Linked DNA regions of Homo sapiens: region 2 is linked to region 1. Evidence: promoter capture Hi-C in human tissues and cell types (Jung and others, 2019). All regions are on one chromosome and are shown on one strand. The core of a region is centred on a gene start or on the middle of the fragment in contact, and the rest is flanking DNA. Distances in the headings are between cores, read along the strand shown. Region 1 holds the start of TLR10 (toll like receptor 10). Region 2 overlaps RELL1 (RELT like 1).

What was found. Contacts are between HindIII fragments. The study calls those that stand out against the background at their distance.
Region 2: a contact is called between a fragment that was not itself captured here and the fragment with the promoter of TLR10 in region 1, in 1 of the 25 tissues and cell types used here (dorsolateral prefrontal cortex).

The regions. Positions count from the first base shown.
Region 1 is chr4:38,781,148-38,784,928 of GRCh38, reverse strand. It overlaps TLR10 (toll like receptor 10), which reads left to right and starts at 1,939. Exons shown (of 4, transcript NM_030956.4): 1 at 1,939-2,008. RefSeq lists enhancers at 2,618-2,787, 2,850-3,059. The HindIII fragment of the contact is 2,112 bases long and covers 1,255-3,366 here.
Region 2 is chr4:37,680,148-37,683,595 of GRCh38, reverse strand. All of the region lies in intron 1 of RELL1 (RELT like 1), which reads left to right. Among named protein-coding and RNA genes, the nearest start is that of RELL1, 4.5 kb to the left of the region's middle. RefSeq lists an enhancer at 773-822. The HindIII fragment of the contact is 3,589 bases long and covers 1-3,162 here.

The DNA.
Region 1 (3,781 bases), core at 690-3,189:
GAAATTTTCTTCTTTACTCGTGATCTCCAGCAGTCACCTAAATCTTAAGTCAAGTATGAAAAAAACCTCAAAAATGTTGCTTTAAAAATTGATCCGTACTTTGCGATCTACATTTTAAAAAATACCATGCTTATTTTACCACTTCACTTCAAGAAAAGGCCTCTAGGTCAGAGGTCTCCAATCTTTTTGGCACCAGGACCAATTTCATGGAAGACAGTTTTTCCACAGACCGGGTTTGGAGATGGAGGAGAGATGGTTTCGGGATGATTCAAGCACATTACATTTATTGTGCACTTTATTTCTATTATTATGACATTGTAATATATAATGAAATAATTATACAACTCACCATAATGTAGAATCAGTGGAAGCCCTGAGCCTGTTTTCCTGCAACTAGATGGTCCCATCTGACATGATGGGAAGCAGTGACAGATCATCAGACATTAGATTCTCATAAGGAGCACGCAACCTAGATCCCTCCCATATGCAGCTCACAGTAGGGTCCAAGCTCCTATGAGAATCTAATGCTGCCACTGATATGACAGGGTGTGGAGCTCAGGTGGTAATGCAAGCGATGGGGAGCGACTGTAAATACAGATGAAGCTTCATTTGCTTACCCACCACTCACCTCCTGCTGTGTGGCTCGGTTCCTAACAGGCCATGAACTGGTACCTGTCTGTGGCCCAGGGGTTGGGGACCACTGCTCTAGATAACTCCTTTCCACCCTCTTCCTGCCTGATTGCTGAAATTATGGAGTCACCATTCCTACTCCTGCCCATCATCACATGACTGCCCCACCCAACTGATGAAAGGGATAACCGACCTGCACCTTGAAGAAAAGCATCATCAAAGAGCTCTAAGATGCTGTGGAAAACCAGTATGGTAGTTCTGCAAAAAATTAAACAGAATGGTCATACGATCCGTGAATTCCACTTCTAGGTATAGACTCAAAAGAATGTTAAGTACCAACTTAAATAGATATTTGTGCACCACGTTCACAGCAGCATTATTCACAAGAGCCAAAAGGTGAAAACTACCCAAATGTCCATTGATGGATGAATGAATGAACAAAATGTGGGACGTACATACAACAAAATAGTATTCAGCCTTAAAAAAGGAAGGAAAGATTCTATTATTCTATGTAATAATAATAGAAATGATATGGATGAACCTTAAAGACATTATGCTCAATGAAATAAGCCAGTCACAAAAAACCAAATATGGTATAACTCCACGGACATGAGGTACCTAGAGTAGTCAAATTCACACAGACAGAAAGTAGAATTATAGTTTCCAGGGTCTGAGGGAAGGGGAAAATGGGAAATTATTTTTTAATGGCATAGAATTTCAGTTTGGGATGACGAAAAATCTTTGGAGATGGGCAGTGGTGGTGGTTGCACAACAGTGTGAATGTACTTAATTAATGCCACTAAATTGTACATTTAAAAATGCTTAAGGTCAGGCGCGGTGGCTCACACCGTAATCCTAGCACTTTGGGAGGCCGAGACAGGCAGATCACTTGAGCTCAGGAGTTCAAGACCAGCCTGGGCAACTGGCGAAACCCCGTCTCTACAAAAAATACAAAAAACTTAGCCAGGCCAGTTGGTGAGCGCCTGTAGTCCCAGACATTTGCGGGACTGAGAAGCCCAGCCTCTTGCGGGCTTTAGCGCAAGAGGTCAAGGCTGCAGTGAGCAGTGATCACACCACTGCACTCCAGCCTGGGTGACAAAGTGAGACCCTACCTCAAAAAAAATAAAAATAAAAATAAAAATAGAAAGATGGTGAGCATGATAACTCCTATGTTATGTGTATTTGACCACAATTTAAAAAAGTGCTAAGATTATAATGAATATATATAACATGCAATACCAGTAGCATGCAGAAGAGGGCGGATGGGGTTTAAGCTTTACAGAAAACCTCGATTCAATTCCCTCCTGCAGCCAATTCTGACCGTGTCAACGAATCATCCACGCACCTGCAGCTCTGCTGAGAGAGTGCAAGCCGTGGGGTAAGAACCTTAGCTTTGTTTGTTGTAACTCTCATTAAAAAGATATAAGGGCTGCATGGGTATTTTCTAAAAAGGAGATAATTTGAGCTAATATTGAGGGGAGGGAAGTAGGGTTATTTAGATTTTTAGTATTTACTATTTTGTCTAGATTAATGATTAGTGACCTTGGGGCTATTGATCTGAGGAATTTCTTGCAGATGCTTGAGAGCGTGGGTTTCTTTTCACTGATTGCGGATCAAACCTGGTCAGCTCTTCTATTCAGATTGAACGGTCCTATGCACTGTGGCAAGTTTTTTCTAGCTCTTATTTCCCCACAGCGTATGTTAACCTCTGCTGGATGAAACCTTTGGCTATTTAAGGCATATTTGTTGCTCCTTTACCCCGTTGAAAAGTTCTGCATTTGTGTTACCTGTTTAAAAGTAGGGGCAGATCTGATGGATCTTGTACAATGCAGTTCTTATTCCGTTTCCTTCAGAAGTGGACAAAGAGGGCCATATGTGGTTGCTGTAAAGAAGAGGATGGTTAACAACCTGTGAGCATTTGGTTTCTTGATAAGCTTTCTCCCAGACCACCTACACTGAGCTATTAATTAGGAATAGGATGCACTTCGAGTTTTATTTCAATTCTTGTGAACTTATAACTTTCCTAAGAATATATTTATACATGTAGGCAAAGTCTCTTGAACTTTGTGGCACCTAGCAGAGTGTCCCACAGCAGCTGCATGAAGCTTCATAGACAGGGGCATGGGGTGAGAAAGGAGGAAGTGGCCGCCATGGCAGCTGGTCAGATCAATGGATTCAACCTCAGTGATTCGGTCCTTAGGATGTCGTTACATCTTAAGCCACCTCATTTCAAGGTTTGAGGTGCCTTGCATTTGGGTTTAGTTACCATCCAGAAGGAACCAGACAGGTCTGGGTTCAAATCTCTGCTTCTTCAGTTGGTCATCTTGGGCAAGTTACTTTACCTCTGGGCTTTAGCTCCTCCATCTGTAAAATATGAATAATAATGGCCGCCATTTTGTTGAGTCATTGAGGGATTAAACAAGGTAATGGACATAAAACACTTAGCTCCATGTCAGACACGTAGGAAATACTGAAAAGAAGTCATTCTTACTCTTATGTTGCAAAGATCATTCAACATTCAATAGGTTCTTAATCTCTTTTCTATTTCTTTATATCATTGGGAAAAGATAAATTAGATGATTAAATATTCTTTGGTAAAACACTAGTTGTCATTTGATGATGTCTTTTGACTTGGACTTTTAAATTATAAGATATTAAAGATGTATTAAGGAAGGTCATTCTCTGTTTTTTACCTGCTTTTAACGTAGTAGTAGGGATATGATATTAACATATATATACTATTTATAGACTACATCACCAACATGGTGAAACCCCATCTCTACTAAAAATACAAAAATTAGCCGGGTGTGATGGCAGGTGCCTGTAATCCCAGCTACTCAGGAGGCTGCGGCAGGAGAATCGCTTGAACCTGGGAGGTGGAGCTTGCAGTGAGCTGAGATCATACCACTTTACTCCAGCCTGGGCAACAGAGCGAGACTCCATCTCAAAAAAAAAAAAAAGTGTATGTCCTACTTTTAAAATTGCTTTAATGAGGCCAAGCACAGTGGCTCACACCTCTAATCACACCCATTTGGGAGGCTGAGGTGGGAAGATTGCTGGAGGCCAGGAGTTTAAGAGCAGCCTTGGCAACATAGTGAGACCCTGTCTCTATGTAAAAGTTGTTTTTATAAAATGTCATAATGCATAAGTA
Region 2 (3,448 bases), core at 119-2,618, 1.1 Mb after region 1:
TAGTAGAATCGGGGCTTCCCCATGTTGGCTATGCTGGTTTGTAACTCCTGACCTCAAGTGATCCGCCCTTCTCGACCTCCCAAAGTGCAGGGATTACAGGTGTGAGCCACCGCGCCCAGCCTTCATAGGCATTTTTAAACTCATTGCTCATAACCCTGTGAAATACTTACTTCCAGTAAGGCAACTGAGGCAAGAGAGGTTAAACAACTGGCTGAACATCACATAGGTACTGTGCCAGTCAGCATTCAGAGAAGCAGAACCACTAGGAGGTGTCTGTGTATGTGTGTACCTTTATATGTATCTTTATCTGGGATAACCCAGCCTGCTTGATTCCAAAGTTCATTCCCTTTCCACTGTACCCCACTGCTCTGCAGAGGAAAAATAGAATATGAGTCAACCTCTGCAATCTCGCTGAGATTCTAAGATAGTTTAGAACGTCATAAAATTGTAAGCATGTGGTTATCAGAAGTTGTCAAGTAGAGAAAAGAAGGGCAGATAGCTTCACGGTGGGTAGTGGCAATGCCTTTTTCACTTCCTTCCTAGTAGAAGAATCTCATTAAACTTGTCTCTTAGCAGCAGCATTCGAAACTATATACCACAAGCACCCAAAGGGATGATTTTCCACGTCTTGGCTTATTAATGTCCTTAAGTTCTCTGGTTACTCAACCTTCAGGTTTATTAGTTTCTCTCTCAGACAGTGGGCATAGCCCTCGAGTAAGGAGTGGGTGGAAGAGGTCCTGGGGCTGGTGAGATGAAAAATGCATTGTCCTTGGGCTGCAGGCTTCCCTCCAGCATTCTGACTCCTTTTTAGAAACTAAAGATAAGCTTTATTAAATTCTGGGGTCTCTCTTAGCCAGGTAGCTGCGAAGCTGTACATCCACATAATATATAGTGTTTGGAAAGTTTTGAAAAAGCACACCTTGGAGCTTGGGAGTCCATATCTACATTTAATTTTAAAAGGAAATGAAAAATGTGAGAAGTCTCTGTCAATTCCCTGCCCCTACCCCCTCTAAAAATGGAAATGAAATGAATCTATTTGGAAATTTGAAGAGTTGAATTTGAATGTGAGAGACCAAAGCCCCAAGTGAACAAACAACAGATTTTATTGTTTCTTTAAAAATGATTCTTTGGCCCTAATGTTGAAGTTTAATGACTTATTGAAACAATAGAGAAATGATTTAAAGCTGACAAAAAGAATAAATTAAATTGTCATTGGTATAAACTATTAGGTTGAGTGGTTCCTAATAATTTCGGACACTTAAGTGGTTGTAAAGATTTGGTGTGCTGCTGAAAGCGGGTATATTAATAATTCTGGTGTGATTTATAAAAACTAAAATCAGAATTTGGTGTTAGTACACTGTAGACACTTTACTCTTTTAGGAAAAAGGAATTCAATTTTTATTATTACCTGGTTTGTGTGCAGGCGGTAGTCTAAATACCTAGATCATTTCATTCTTACAATTAATTTCCTGTCAGTTATATACATAATTTTATTCCTGTGTTTGTAGATGAGGAAATTGAGCCTCAGAGAAGTTGAAAAAGTCACTCATGTGTAAGCTGGATTTTGTCATGGAGTCCATTGAGTCAGATCTGTTTGATTTTGAAGTCCATGCTTATTATTACTAAACTATTTTTTTGAGTAAGAAAATTCTTTTTATTCTAACATATTTGTAAAGAATCAGTAAGTAACAAGGTCATGGGATGCTATGGTGGAAAGAGCACCAAGCCTTAAGTCAGGGCCTTGGACTTGAAGTCAAAAATCAGAAGGAAGCCGGGTGCAGTGGCTCACGCCTGTAATCGCAGCACTTTGGGAGGCCAAGGCGGGCAGATCACGAGGTCAGGAGTTCAAGACCAGCCTGGCCAATATGGTGAAACCCCGTCTCTACTAGAAATACAAAAATTAGTTGGATGTGGTGGCACATGCCTGTAGTCCCAGCTACTGGGGAGGCTGAGGCAGGAGAATCACTCGAACCTGGGAAGCGGAGGTTGCAGTGAGCTGAGATCGTGCCACTGCACTCCAGCCTGGGTGACAGAGCAAGACTCCGTCTCAAAAAAAAAAAAAAAAAAAAAAAAAAAACAGAAGGAGACCCTGATGCCTGCAGCATATGGTTCTGTCCACCTCCATTTCCTCACCTGTAAAATGGGCATTGTGCCAACACCTGTCTCTCTGTCCTACTGGCTGCTCTGTCTTACTGAGCTCTTGTCTCTGAAAGTTCTGGGTAAATGGCAAAGTGGCATATATCTTTTATCCTGTGTATCTTTAAAAAATATAGTATTTTTTCTCCAGAGTGCGCATTAGGCTTGATTTATATTACGTCATTTAAACTGTCAAATAAATGTGGACCACATATATTAAACAGTTTTTATTCTGGAGGTGGTGATAGCTTTGCAATGATAGGGATTTTTAAAAAGCCCAGAGTGACACCTCAGATTAGAGTTTGCTACTGTTGCATAGGAGTTAAGTAGCCAAGCCATCTTTTCTCATTTCCCTTTAGCTAAAATACAGTGCACTAGGTATTTTTGGAAAATTTCCCCAAAGATCTAAAGTTTGTGGGAGGAAGGAGCGAGAATCACCCTTGATTCCATTACTCCAAGGCACTAGCCATTGTTAGCATATTTCATTCTGGTCTTCTCTAATTGCATTTTTTTTTTTTTTTTTTTTTTGAGATGGAGTGTTGCTCTGTCACCCAGGCTGGAGTGCAGCGGCGCGATCTCAGCTCACTGCAAGCTCCGCCTCCAGGGTTCATGCCATTCTCCCGCCTCAGCCTCCCAAGTAGCTGGGACTACAGGCGCCCACCACCATGCTTGGCTAATTTTGTTTTTATATTTTTAGTAGAGACAGTGTTTCACCGTGTTAGCCAGGATGGTCTCGATCTTCTGACCTCATGATCCGCCCGCCTCGGCCTCCCAAAGTGCTGGGATTACAGGCATGAGCCTGTAATTGCGTTCTTAACTCGCATAGGTTCTTTAATTGCATTTTTAACTCGGATAGGTTCATAATGCAATATAACTTTGTATCATGACTTTTTCAGTTTATGTTACACAGAAATGTTTCTCTATTTCCCTATACACCCAAAAAAGGGCTGCCTACTGTTCCACTATATGGATTCACTGTATTTTACTTCTATGTATCTATTTGGGAGATTTCAGTTGCTCATTATTTTTAAGTGAGTTTTAAAACTCATTTCAATGAATGCCTCTGTGCATGAAACTTTGCCTAAATATCAGAGGACTTCCACAGAAAATGGGTTCCTGAAAAGGCACTTTGAGGGTCAAAGATGTTCACATTTTTGAGGCAATTGATGACATCAGTGTTGATCTGAAGGTCATCCCAGGTTACATTCTCACAGCAATAGCCAAAAAGACTCAATTTCATATTCTTGTTATTTTCTCTGAAAAACATATTCGCTAATTTGTTAGGCAAAAATTGGTACCTTGATTGTTTTAA